Regions from separate parts of the Homo sapiens genome. Here region 2 is linked to region 1. The links are contacts of gene promoters, found by promoter capture Hi-C in blood cells and fetal thymus (Javierre and others, 2016). All regions are on one chromosome and are shown on one strand. The core of a region is centred on a gene start or on the middle of the fragment in contact, and the rest is flanking DNA. Distances in the headings are between cores, read along the strand shown. Region 1 holds the start of PRB4 (proline rich protein BstNI subfamily 4). Region 2 holds the start of TAS2R20 (taste 2 receptor member 20).

What was found. The method cuts DNA at HindIII sites, captures the fragments that hold promoters and counts their contacts. A CHiCAGO score of 5 or more calls a contact.
Region 2: the fragment with the promoter of TAS2R20 here is called in contact with the fragment with the promoter of PRB4 in region 1 in 4 of 17 cell types (total CD8 T cells, naive B cells, activated CD4 T cells and 1 more); the score reaches 6.9 in total CD8 T cells.

What each region holds. Positions count from the first base shown.
Region 1 is chr12:11,306,038-11,313,267 of GRCh38, forward strand. It overlaps PRB4 (proline rich protein BstNI subfamily 4), which reads right to left and starts at 4,399. Exons shown (of 4, transcript NM_002723.6): 1 at 4,298-4,399; 2 at 3,333-3,368; 3 at 2,184-2,845; 4 at 1,040-1,162. The coding sequence starts at 4,361. The coding sequence ends at 2,202. The HindIII fragment of the contact is 5,809 bases long and covers 1-4,985 here.
Region 2 is chr12:10,995,795-11,003,024 of GRCh38, forward strand. It overlaps TAS2R20 (taste 2 receptor member 20), which reads right to left and starts at 2,510. Exons shown (of 1, transcript NM_176889.4): 1 at 167-2,510. The coding sequence starts at 2,081. The coding sequence ends at 1,152. The region is part of intron 3 of PRH1-TAS2R14 (PRH1-TAS2R14 readthrough); the gene reads right to left. The region is part of intron 3 of PRH1-PRR4 (PRH1-PRR4 readthrough); the gene reads right to left. It also overlaps a transcript of PRH1 not described here. The HindIII fragment of the contact is 1,654 bases long and covers 1,284-2,937 here.

The DNA.
Region 1 (7,230 bases), core at 3,149-5,648:
ACAGGGGCAGTTTTCTAATATTGAACCTTCCTTGCTTGAGAAGCAGACATGCCAATCTCTGCAAGGTTTTTGGTACATATGTTATCTGAATAGTCTCCATATTCTAAGGTAGTTGTTTTGATTCTTCTCATTGTAGATGAGGAAATTGAAGCTCTGAGAGACCAAGTAGCTTTTTAAGAGTTCAGGCTAGCAAGAAAGAGTTATGTCTTAACTAAAATCTGAGAGTGTCCCAATTCTTTGCTCCTAAAAGTCATGCTGCCTCCTTGATGAAATCCATTCAGGTTTCATTAAAGAAAGGTGAGGAACATAGGGAGGGAGGGAAGTGATCACTGTTAAAATAGGGTCAATGGGATAGAGAGGGCTCTGGGAATAAGAAGCATAGAACCCTGTTTGTTCCCTTGAAACCAAACTCAGTTTCTTAGAAATTATAAGGATTTCTTTTAGTTTCTGTGACTTATTTTCCATTTGTTGTGGTTTTTGTCCTTAAAATTACTGGAATATCAGTAAACAATCTGAAAATAATTTTAGATTTTCAATTTGTGCTGTAGAAGTCAGGGAGGAGCCAGGTGTGGTGGCTCATGCCTGTAATCCCAACACATTTGGAGGCCAAGGCAAGCGGATGACCTGAAGTCAGAATTTCTAGCCTAGCCTGGCCAACAGGGTGAAAACGCATCTCAACTAAAATTACAAAAATTACCCAGGTGTGATGGTGGGAACCTGTAATCCCAGCTACTGTGAAGGGTGAGGCAGGAGAATAGCTTGAACCCAGGAGGTGCAGGTTGCAGTTAGCCAAGATCACGCCACTGCATTCCAACCTAGGTGATAGAGCAAGACTCCATCTCAGAAAAAGAAAAAAAAATTGAAGTCAGGGAAAGAGATAAACAGCAAAACATTTTTCATGGCAGCTGGCTAAGTTAGGATTAAAGAGAAGGGAAACTCCCTGGAAGCATCAGACAGAAGGGGTCCTAGATGTTCTTATAATGTGTTCTTGGTCCTCACATTCCACATTCACAAACACTGAGAAAGAACACCACAATCAGAAATTGCAAGCTGATTATTTTATTGGTATATTAAAGTTAGAGCTATGATGACCTTGTTCCAATGTCACGGCATTTGTAGCAATTGAATTATTTGAATTCACTGATATCTTCTTATTCACTTCCTGAAATAAACAAACAAGCAAGTTCATAGATTCACTCTTTTGATGCCCTTGCACACAATGTGCTCCAAATTGTGGCTTAGAAGATGAAGAGAAAAGACCATCCTTAGGTTGCTGTGACTCATTGCTGTTGAATTTGTTCAGGGATATATTTACACAGATGGTAACTGGAACATATTCTATAATACTGAGAAGCTAAAACCACCCTCAGTGTCCAGTGACAGGGATTGGTTAACGAAATCATGGCACAGCTACACAATAGAGTAGTATAAAAATGTAAAAGCAAACAGAAAACCACTGAAGATATGTAGTGACCTTCATAAACTGATGTGGAAATTTTAAAAAAATGTATTTTTTAAATGACTAACATATATACCTGCATATAAGTTATGGCATTAGTGGTAGGGTAAAAGAATGCTATATGTCTATGCACACATAAATATTTCAAAGAAAAGATCCCATAAGGTTAACAGTGGGAGCTTTTTGAAGGAAGGAAGGTGGGTAGGATGTGTTATGCCTTTAAAATTAGCTTCATATTTTTCCATTCCATTAGATATTTTTTGTTAGCTTAATCATGTACGTATTGAAAAGTTAAGTATCTAAAAAGTGACACGCCATTTAGCTGCTGAAAGATCAGGGACCATTTGGCAGGAATACTGGACTCGAGAGGCTGGTGTGAGGCAGGACTGAGCAAATGGTGCTCAGGTGAAAACTTTAAATGGGAGGTCTCTGAGTTAGTGGATAGAAAACAGAACGCCAAGAATGAACATGGTACTACCTCCTCATTGCCAACACAATTTAAGACAGATCATATGGTATGTTGTTTCTCAACATCAGAATTCCTTAAAGATTTTGTTAGAAATACAGGGTCCCCTTACCCTATTCCAGAGTATCTGAATACAAATTTTTAGAAATGGGTTCTAGGACAATACAATGTCAATGGGTTTTAGTTGATTCATTGGCACAATAAAGTTGGAGAACTGTAGCAATTAGAGTCCTGATGAATAATAAAGTGGAATCATACCTGTCATTGAATCCTAGATTACTGGGGAGGCTGTTGTCCCTGGGCAGGTCTGGGTGGCCTGCCCCCTTGAGGAGGTGGAGGTGGCCCCTGGGGCTTTCCAGCAGGAGGTGCCTGAGGCTGCTGGGGATTGCCTCCTGCTGGGGGTGGGCCTTGTGGCTTTCCAGGAGGTGGGGGACCTTGAGGCTTGTTGCCTTCTTGTTGGGGTGGTCCTTGTGGCTTTCCTGGAGGAGATCGGGCACTTCGGGACTTGTTTCCTTCCTGTGGGGGTGGTCCTTCTGGCTTTCCTGGATGAGGTGGGGGACCTTGGGACTGGTTACCTCCTTGTGGGGGTGGTCTTTCTGGCTTTCCTGGAGGAGGTGGGGGACGGTGGGACTGGTTGCCTCCTTGTGGGGGTGGTCTTTCTGGCTTTCCTGGAGGAGGTGGGGTACCTTGGGACTGGTTTCCTCCTTGTGGGGGTGGTCTTTCTGGCTTTCCTGGATGAGGTGGGGGACCTTGGGACTGGTTGCCTCCTTGTGGGGGTCGTCCTTCTGGCTTTCCTGGAGGAGGTGGGGGACCTTGGGACTGGTTTCCTCCTTGTGGGGGTGGTCCTTGTGGCTTTCCTGGAGGAGGTGGGGGACGTTGGGGCTGGTTTCCTCCTTGTGGGCGTCGTCCTTCTGGCTTTCCTGGAGGAGGTGGGGGACATACGGCATTCACTGAATAGTTGCCACAAATTTTTACAGTAATGGAGCTAAATGGGGAAATGCACAAAAATGAGACCCAGATACTAATTTCTTTGCATTTTCAGTGAAGCCCTAGAACTCTGGAGTGGAACGCTGGGGGAAAAGGGAGAAGTTGAGGGGCTCTCAGTCTAAGGAGGAGTCAGAATAAGGACACTGGCCATTTGTCTGTCATCTCCCAGGAGGCACTCCTGGCCAGGGGGATGTCAACCCACTCCTGTTGTCATCTAAGCCAAGCATCTCTGACATTCCATTTGGTGGCCTGCTCATGGTCCCCAGAATCAAGTTTGCATGAAGATTGCCTATATCATTAGGGGCAATAACATTAATCAATTCCTGAAAGGAAAGTGTTGATAAGAAGACACTGGAGAAATGATCCATTTGTAAGCAGAAAAAGGGAGTCAAAACAGATTGAGAATGAATTGGGATTTACCTGATATTAGGAAGAGAGATTCTTCCTGGCTGACATCTAGAAGAGAAGCACAGGATGATGGGAAATGTTACATCTCAAATCTTCAAGACTCACAAGTGTTCTACAGGGAAAATTGTCTTCTCACCACACCCCATGCATCCCCTAGGTTAACTCATCAGCCACCATCTGTGAAGGTGCTGGAAGGGGTGGAAGGTGTAAGAGGAGGCAGGGTTGTTACCACACAGAGCAACAGCAATGAGTTCAACATAGAACAGCCCCTTTTTTTCCTCCCTAGCATCCCTCAAGACTTAATGCTTATTTAGTTTATGCATGCCAGGTACTTCAATGTGATATTTTGGTGTTCTTATGCCCTCCATCTCCTGTTAATATATTGCATACATACACATGTTTTCTCAATAGGGGTAACCAGAAGTAATCATTTCAATACAATCTAACCCATTCCACTCCCAGCACATTGAAATACTGCATGTAGGGGAGAGAAAAATTGTAATGATTGGCTCTGATATTTCTACATCTTTAGTTAGACAGAGACAAGTGTTCTATCCAGTTCTGTCTCTGCAGTATCTCTGATGTGTATGTATCTCTATCATCAATGCCGACTGTCTGTACAGCAAGGCCACCATCATCCCTGTGTACTTACTGGGATCAGTATAGGATCTTCACAGCTGGACTTCCCTGAATCTGCCTTGCACTCTCCACTGCAGCCTTCACAGCACAGTTCTATCTCTATAAATTCAAATCTTACCTTCTCATTCCCCTGGAACAAATTCGTTATTGGATTTCATTGTACATTAAATAAATTAGAAGTCCTTATTGTGGAATGAGGGCACAACAGGTCTCCTGATCCTAGGCATGAAAACTCTGCAGCCCCATCTGTGTTTTCATTCTCCTCTCTTCCCCATAATTACCACTGTCACCTCCTAAGTCCCAAGCAGTCACCGCATCTTTTCCCCCTTCTGTTTTACCTTCACTTGAACTCTCAGCTGAGCTCAGGGCCAGCAGGGCCACTGACAGCAGAATCAGCAGCATCTCGCTGGAGGCTCTGGAGTCACTCCCAACTCTGTGCTGGGAGGAACGTGGCAACTCCCTTTATAAAGAGGAGCAAAACAATGGCACCTTTGAGCCCTGGGTGGGCCTCACCACCTCAGAGACTGGGTTCTGCTTTCCTTACTGCAGGTCAGGTGTATCCCTTATTTCTCTTTGGGACTCTAGCCCAGAGGGATGGGGTGGGTTGGATGTTGTTTGTGCCTTATTTCTAAAAGGTACGACTATGACTTGAATAAAGGTTCTAAAGGAACTGTGTCCAAGCTATCAGCACTGTGTCATAATTGAACTTCAGACATCATTAGAGTTTCAATCCTTTTGGTAAGACTATGTCTGCTTTCCACTCTACTATTTATTTCTGTGTAATATTTGTGGGGGCAGTGAAGCTACAGCCAGCAGTGAAGATGGTCAATTTCTCTGGCTCTTTATAGAGCCTATTTCCATCTCTTGTGATGTGTGTGTACAGATAGTATCACAATTGGCTAAAGTTTTGATGCGATAGAGATGGTTTCTGTTACCTGTGTGATGGTGTGAAGACAACACACTCCTGGGCACACATAGATGACAGAAAGCTGCCCCACAGCCTGCTCGGGCTACAACTATTGTTCAAGCTTCTGTGGATCTGACTCAGCTCAGGCAAGGCTTGTTGTTGTGCCACACAGGAAGGCCAAAATTGTGTATTTTAAAGTACCTTTAGGGGTTATTAATGCAAAATGTACACAGAAACCATAAGGAAATTTCTAGATCTGAGAAAACTGAATACATAATTCCTTGCGGGAGCCATGCGATATCATGTTGCCAAAACTTCCTTCATGCTCTTCCCTTTGTCCAGAATATTCTATAATATTCACCCTCTGCTTCATTTCTTTTAATAATTGTATTGAATTCCTACCACTTATAATTAAGTGGCTACAATTCTACATTCAAATAGGATAATCAGATACCCTCGTTAAAGCCTAAATTGCATTATATTGGTATTCTTGGTTTAGTCAGTATTTGTGTTACCTGTTTTCTCAGATTGTTCTTCCACAAAGAGTATTTTTCTATAATATTCTGATATGCATTCCTCCCCACCTTCTTTCTGGTTCTTCTTTGTTCATATTTTATTTTCTGAGTCAAGCCCATTATGTGTATTTTTCTTTATGTATCTGGCTTTTTTCCCCATGAATTTGGTGAGATTTCCTTTATTTAATCTTCTAAGTATTAGGATATAGTACTTACCATCTTTGTTTCATTCTTGTCTGTGTAATTTCATAATACGTGTTGTGTTTCCAAAAAGCCCTATCAGAGACCTGCATTGTTAGCACTTCTTTCAGCTACTGATTCTTCGTTATATCTGATAAATACCTGCTTATCAGTTCATGGAATATACAGGTTACTCAGTATCAACAGCTGCCATTTACCACTTAGACCTTCCATGTGTCTTGTGTAATTGTTCACATTTTGTGCATGGCTGGTATTAATTTGAGAACACCTTGGTTGGAGGTATGATGGAGGTAGAGAGGGTATGTGACAGTAAATCCTAAAGACAGGCCTCTTGAACATTGTGGATGAGTAGATCCTGGGCTTTGCAGATGAGAATCTGGGTGGCCCTTCTGAAGAGTTGCAGGTAATAGTACAAGCAGACTTCCTAATAAAAAAGGCTTTGCTACAGATAACTTTGCCCTTGCAAGGGAACCACGAAGATTGGTATTTTCCCTGACAAAAATATACACGTACTTGAAATGGGAATACAACTGGAGATGAGCAATCCTGCTTAGGTGGCTTAAGTTAGACCATCAGGTAACAAAGGAATGTCAGAGAAAAGGAGCAGCAGAGGCCAGGCTGACATTGCCTGATATTGTCACCAACTGAGGTTGCTGCAGCCTGATGCAAGACCGACTTCCCCTTGGCAGGAAGGTACAGGAAGAGAATGAAAACCCCCCTAAAGATCACTCATTTCAGGCCCTTTCCTGACCTTCTCCAATGTCAGCAATGAGTAAAGTTTATCAGGAAAGCATAAATATCAGCTATGCACTCACCAGACAAAACAAAAAAGAGGTGATGGAAATGCGGAAAGGGACACTCTCTGTGGGTGAGGGTGGGTGGAAGAGAGAAGCAGGACTGCAGCAGGAACTTGGGCACCTAGACGTGAGTGGAAGCCCTGAGCACTCCACTTGCCTTCTAATATCCATGTTCATATTCTCAGGTCCTGAAGGAACAGCCTTCAACATATGAAATTTTAGGAAACACAATTCAGCTCTCATAACAGCTCCCAACCTTTTCTAAGTCAAGTGTTCAGTGGTTCAAAACTCCTCACTCCCTTCAGGCACTGCCCTTTAGCAAATCCAGTTTCCTCCACTTTCAACACTCATCCCAAATACAACCACTTGCATAATATTTACTAGAAGGTGATAGTTCAGGCCATGATGCTCTCTCCTGAAGAAGTTTAATATCCTCAGTGCTCTTGGTAACATTCCTACCCCAGCACATCCCATATCCATTCCCCTCATATCAGTCAGGGTGATCATTGAAAAGTAGGAATTAGATCATAACACTTTTGTGCTTCCAATGCTCTTAGGATTTTCTTCTGCACTTGTAATAAGATCCAAACTTCATGCCTCAGCTCTCTCACACTCACACATCTCTCTCTTTTTGAAGACTTGGAAGCTCTGTGAATGGAACAGAAAGCAAAATCTTCCTCAACTTACTGTGTTCATTGCATAAACCAACCATTCTGGTAATACAGTTGTGTGTGAGAATTCAGATTTGTGTTGACTTTTCTAAAAACTTCGGTTACATTGGTAGGATGGTCATCTTTATATTTTTATTTGATGTTGATGCTCTCTAATATGTATATTTCACAACTATTTGA
Region 2 (7,230 bases), core at 1,260-3,759, 310 kb before region 1:
CTTTTCTAATTGCGTATGGAAACTTATAACAGCACTGAAAAGAGCTCATGATCATGTTTCTTCATCCTTTTTATAGAAATGATTTTTTCTAAGCTATTAACATACTATATTAAATATAATATTCCTCAGTATTGCTTTTGATACACATAAAAATGTACACTAGATATATTTTTCACCCTTGAATTTTATTTTGTGCATTGTTATCTAACAATAATTGTATTTGCTTTATATTAAACATAAAATAAGAATTCATCATGAATGTCTATAATCCCAGCACTTTGGGAGGCTGAGGCAGTGGATCACTTGAGGTCAAGAGTTCGAGACCAGCCTGGCCAGCATGGTGAAACCCCATCTCTACTAAAAAAAAAAAGAAAAATACAAAAAATTAGCCACGTGTGGTAGCGCATGCCTGGAGTCCCAGCCACTCAGGAGGCTGACGCATGGAAATCACTTGAACCCCAGAGGTGAACGTTGTGGTGAGCCAAGATTGTGCTACTGCATTCCAGCCTGGACAACAGGGCAAGACTCCATCTCAAAAAAAAGAAAAAAAGAATTCATGATTAAAAAAAAAACAAAAAAACCTACCCCAAAGACACATTCTCATCGATTTAGAATTAAATGTCCTTACCATCCAAAAAATTAGAGGTTCAAACAATGATAGTTAAACAGTTAAACACACTATGGTACATATACGTGATACAAATTACAACGAAAAACAGCAATGATTTTACAACGAAAAACAGCAATGATTTTCTGATATAAGCTGTCAGTTCTTAATTATAAATAGAGATCATAAATTCCTCAAATGAAATATCATATAAAAAAATGTGTGAAATACACATGGGTTCATAATTCTGAGAAATTTCTTATCCTACTTTGGTATAACTGAACAGTTTATATGAAAAGTTGATTAAAGGTATGTTATGGTAAATATTAAATTTTCATATACATTCAGACATACACACACACGCAAATGTATATTATATATATATACTTTTATATAATAAACTTAGGTAAAAGACTTTTCTATGTCAACTTTTGGAAATTACTCAAATACATAGACTACGGAAAAACTTGTGGGAAATATAAAATGTTCCAGACACCATCAATTTGTTTTCTGCTAGAAAACACACAATGCACCTCTTGTGAATCTATGGAGTTGACTGGTTCTGTCCTTTTGCCCAGCAAGTCACCTGCCACAAAACTGAAAGAAAGGTCTGCTTTAGCGTCTTGTTCCCCCAAATCAGAATGAATGAGTGGAATGATGGATATATGATTCCAAAAGCTTGGCAAAGCATTAAGACAATTTCTTTTGGTCGCATCTTAAAATTCCAAAACGATATGATTAGACACAGAAAGTAAATGGCAAGTAATATGAGGAAGGAGGTCACAGTTTGCAGAGCTTTTATGTGGATCTTGGTGCTGGGATCTTGAGATCCTTTGCCATGGAGCTGCATCTTCTTCAGATGTTTACACAGAGAGTAGATTAACAGCAGAAAAGATATCAGGGTCAGAGTGAATGGTATCAAGTTTGCTAGCATGGCTACAGTCAAGTTGGAAAGGTGCATTGCATTCCTCAGTTTGATCTTCCAAGTTACGTTTCCTTCACATTCTTCTGTCCACACATTTATATACGTGTGTTTCATCACAAGGTGACAAACCAAAAAGAACAAAGACCCCAACACTATCACCAGAACTACACTCTTAGCCTTCCTTTTTAAGTGATGAAAAATAAGTCTGGAGAAATTGACGATCTTGAGCAAATAAAATATGCTGAGGCTAGTAGCAAGCCAGATGCTGAAATGATTGGTTACTGCCCAGGCATTAGAAATAAAAATTATTACTTTTAAATTAGATGAAGTTGGATTCAACACAGTTGAATACCAATGTAATAATATTACCCAGAGCAAACCAACTCTGGAGACTGCCAGAGCAGCAATAATTTGATCAGCTGAGGAGATCTTTTGTCTCTTGACCCAGGCAATGAAATTTATCAGTGCTATAAAGCCATTGGCAAAATTTCCAAGAATAAATGCAACCACTACTAGAATGGAAAAAACAATGTGTAGAAAACTCATCATGTCTAAACAAAAAAGCAAGTAAAAAATTCAGGCCTAATGTCACTGATGGTGACTCCTCTGATATTCAAGACTTTAAGTTAAATATGCACTTGATTCCTGAATGTCCAATAACATTCTTTATACTTTTAAATTCTGTGAACAATGTCAACAGAAAAGCACCAGCTTAAACTAATGAATGAGTTCAATGCTGCCTTTATGGGAAATACTGTTAGTCCCAAAACAACTCAAATTAATTCTTATTCATAAAGTCTCTATTCTTGCTATAGGCTGAAATTTTTCATACTGATGTTGAAGGGAAAGCTGAATTCTCATTTGCTAGCATTCAAATAAAGACATATCCTCTTTCATTGCTTTGCAATTTTTTCCTTGTTTCACCTTTCCATAATTTGTGTTCAGCCCTTCAGTTGTTGGGGAAATTTTAATACCCAGTACATAGATGACACAAAAAATATATTGTTAAAAGAGCCTGGTGAAATCTAGGATCAAAATCACTATGGATTTATTTTTAAAGCCAGATTTAAATACACAGAATCTAAACTTTTTATCAAAATCACCTAAGATTTTCTTGGAAACCACAGGAAAGCCAATACTCCTTATAATTTGGTTGCTGTTAACCAATACTTCTATATGGCATCACTATTAACAAGCTCATAAACACACACACAGACACACACACACTTTCACTCTTCAAGGATGGAAGGAATTGCTTTCTTGTAACTTATGACATGGAAAATGAGTTTCCAGGAGCTCGTCCTGGTGGAATTAGTCCTATTTTTCCCATGCCAGATTTTCAGCCAATGAATAATATTCATGAAACATATCTCTCATGCTTAGGCTTTTGGTAATGCTACCTGCAAGCTTGTAAACATTCCTGAGTACCAGACCTTTGTCACATAATTTTGCAGTGTCCTCCCACCACAGGCATAGTGACAACCTTGCACTAGGGCTCTGAGTTCGATCATGTAATTTGCTTTGATGAACAGAAAATTACTACACTTTACATCGAAATTTGAGATGACCTCCACATTAGGCTTTCTTGTTCCTTTCCGGTTTATAATGAGAACATGTCCACACTAACACACTGTTCCCAGAATAAGAATGAGTAACTCATGGAATCATATGGCTCCTGCCTGATCCAGCCTTAAATCGGCCAAACTCTAACTAGATCCAAGAGGCAAAACTTGGACCATCTCAAATCACCAGAGCCATCCACCAAACCCCAGCTTAAGAAAACAGAATCCAAAAACATGTGAGATATAAATATCTAATGTGGTTTTGGAGAAGTTTCTTTTGCAGAAAAAGCTAAGTGATATAGGTACTCTGCTAATCCAAGAGTTTGAGAAATATGTGCGCCCTTGTTGTGTCAGAAATTCAGGAGCCAAAGGAAAAATAGGTTGGAAATATCAAAGTTTTTGTAATATGAGGTGAATATCTAAAACTAGAAGAAAACTTTTGGAAAGATCTGGAGGCTGTAGGTAACAGCATCTCAAATTTCTCCATTTTGCAACTAAAATAAGAATTCACTTTAGCTCTCTTGAGTTGTATAAGAATGTACGTAAATGGTGGATTTTCCCCCTAGGTATATAATGAGCAGAGCAATTAATAATTTTTACGTGACATTTCTCCCAATTTGTAATTTTTTAAATAAAATTATAATGCACACTTAGAAATGGGCCAAAACAAAAATAGGTAAGAGCAATGTATCATAAACACTTATGTAACCATCATGCAGGATAAGACATGGAACACTGCAAACAGACTAGGTCCACTTCCAGGCCACTTTCCAAGCCCCTAAACCTTTATTCACATCTCCTGAGATAAGCAATATTCATAATCTATGATGATCATTTGCTTGAATTTCTTTATACTTTACCAGCTAGGTTCACAACCCTAAACTCCACAGCTTGGTCTGTCCTGCTTTGAACTGTGTATAGGTGCAGTCCTGTGTGTTCTTCTTGTTCATGGCTTCTTGCACTAGATATCATGTTTCTGAAATTTAGTTACATAGTTGCATGTACATGTGATTCATTTCTTTTCACCTCTATATACTGTTCCACTGTATGGATTTACTGTAATCTTTCATATCATTCAATCATCCTTAGTTAATATATATTTGGGCAGTCTATTTTTGAGCTATTATGAATAATACTACTATCAGCATTATTTCACATATCATTTGATGCAATTCCTATTATGGGGTCATTAAATGTGGTGTTCAAATTATCCTCACAGACATAGAAAAGTGCAAAAAATAATTTATCTAAATTTGTTCCTGTCACCTTTACCTCCAGTCTCTTTATCGCTATTTGCATATATCTTATCAATAATATATTTAACTCAGCAAGACGCTATTATTTTATTCAGTCAACATTCATTTAGAATTATGCACATATTTATCATTTCTGTTAATTTTTATTCCTTCTTGCATGCTTAACCTTGTATTTTCAATATTTTTTATCTGAAAAATATCATTTGGATTTCTGTTTATGAAGGTCCTCTATTCTTTTGAAACACACTAAAGACATGATTCCATTGAATTCTACTTTCCATTTTTCTGTTGAAAATCAGGTTGTCATTTAGAAAGTTGTTCCTTTTAAAATAATCTATCTTTTCCTCTGGCTACTTTTCAGATTTTCTACTGGTCTTTGATGTCTTGTGACATTTTATGTTAATTTGTTTTTAGTTATCTTGTCTGACCTTTGATGGTTACTAAAAATATATGGATTAATACATTTTATCACTTTTGGGAAAATCTCCACAACATTGATTCTGCCCTATTTTATCCCTTTTAATCTTCCAGAAATCCAGAAGTATGTTAGATGCTCTGATTGTAGCATCAATGCCTCTTATCCTCTTAGCTTGGCATTCTTTGTCTTGTGGTCTCTTTAGGCTTCTTTCTTTATAGTTGTCTTCCAATTCACTAATTCTCTCTTCTATGTCTAACTGGTTGTTAACTCTGTCTATTGGATTCTCAATATTGATTATTTATTTTTTGCTATTATTGTTTTAGTAGCAGAAATTATATTTTGTTCTCCTTCTATAAATCATTATCTATGGAGAAGCAGAACAAAGCACTCTTACCACCAAGTTTTTTAAAAAAAGTTGGGTTCTTTGTTCAGTTGGTTGGCTTTGTTTTTTTGTTTTTCGTATGCTTGACATGAAAATGCTAACAATTTTCTTCTTTTCCCAAGACTTTGGTCACAAAATAGAATAAAAGCTTGGTCTACACATCCTTCCGCAAGTTGGAAGAACCTGGAAATTGATGTGATGTTAGTAGCTTTTTTTTTTAGGGGGGGATAGCAGCTTGTCTGTTGATGAGTCTTCACCACAAACTCTCCCCACAGGGAAATTCAATGAGCTGTGCTGGATCTCAAGATGCCATTCCAATAAATAAATTATAGCACCTCAACCCTAGCTACACCATTCTATTTTACAAATTAAATTTTACTCTTTTTTTATTAGCAGAAGTGGAGCTCTGTACCTTCAAACTTCTTCACTATCAGGTGAGATATAGAAGATGTGAGGGCTTACTTCTATTTGATTTATTTAGTCCTAAAATTCTCACTTTAGATGTGCCAGCAACCTGTGTGGGCTGATGACTTGGGGCAGGATGGGAGAATGCCAGGGGATAGATGCACAAAGGACTGGACACCTCCTTGCCTCCTCCCATCCTCCTCAAAACTTCAGCACAACTCTGAAGCAAAGTGTGCTTGTGGGAGAACCCAGAGTTGCTTAAGATTTAATTTCTGCCATCAGGTTAATGGAGCACCTAGGGAAATTAAGCTGAGTTTTAAAAATATCCAGAAAGTTAAATTTGTTGTACATGTGAGTTTCTGAACTGCGATTAGGCTTTACTTTACCTGGCATCAGGGAGTGTTATAAATCAATTATTTAAATATTCATGTAAGGTGTAAAAAGGAGTAGAAGTACACGTATCAAATTTCCATAAATAAACTTTGCAATATAAACGTAATTTATACTATTAATTCTTTGTCAATAAAATGTGGAAAGGTTAAAAAATAAATAAAATAAAACCTTCACTTTAGAAGTAAGAGCTTGATCATGAAGTGGCTTATTTATCTTTCTAATTAAGGAATTTTATTAACACCGCAACTAAATCTTTCCTATAGTGTTCCTAAGATCAGTTTAAGGTTATCTATAATGATTTGCTTAAGCAATGTATTTTAAACTAAACTATACTTAAAAATGTATTTGGTTCAACTTGAAATTTTCCATTTTCTAATCTAACTTTCCCATAATAATAATCTTTTAAACATTTATTAGACATTATCCAAATTATTTATGTAAACATTTCAAAAATAAATCATTTAATGAGATAGATATAGATGATGATTGGTGATGATGATAATGTCAGTTAAAAGGGGCCATGCTCTTCTATAAATGTGACTTCAATCATGTTTTCTAAGTGCTGCGTTTCAGGGTGATGGGCTCATGAACTTGTTTCTTATATTATTCTCAGCATCAGGCACAGACAAAGATCCTCAGACAGTATTTCATTAAGAATAAGTTAAAACCAATGTATTTCCAATGATTTACTGGCTATTTTTTTTTCTTTTACCACATTCTGAAAATCATGACAAAAGTGCCCTACAACAAAGAGTATTCTCCTTTGGGCTGTTTAATTTTCACTGTACTTTCATATGAACTTCATATATACAAATCCTCTATACAATTATATAGCATACAAACTGTATTTTATCTTTTAATAGTATCATTAGCAGGCAAAATTCTCTCAACTGCTTATTTACAATCTCAGCTACTGTCACTAAATCTGGGTTATTTTACTATAGCAGTCAAAGTAATACTACATATACACAAGCACACTCAAAGATTACACTAAATATGTTTTATAGCTTAACAGTTATCTTTCTATGTTTTCTTCTCTAATACAGTTGAAAAATTTATAGTAACAAAATATTTTCCCCAACACATATGCTGTGCACATGCATAGTATTGTGATCTTTGAATGGGAACAACATGAGTATAATTATTTCATTTAGGGATAAATGTAGCAAAAATTGTCCTATACACTTAATATCTATAGTCCTACATACTTTAATATTTGTACCTTATGAAAAATTCCCTAATTGCTGCCAATTTGAAACGTGTATCATGAATAATTAAATTG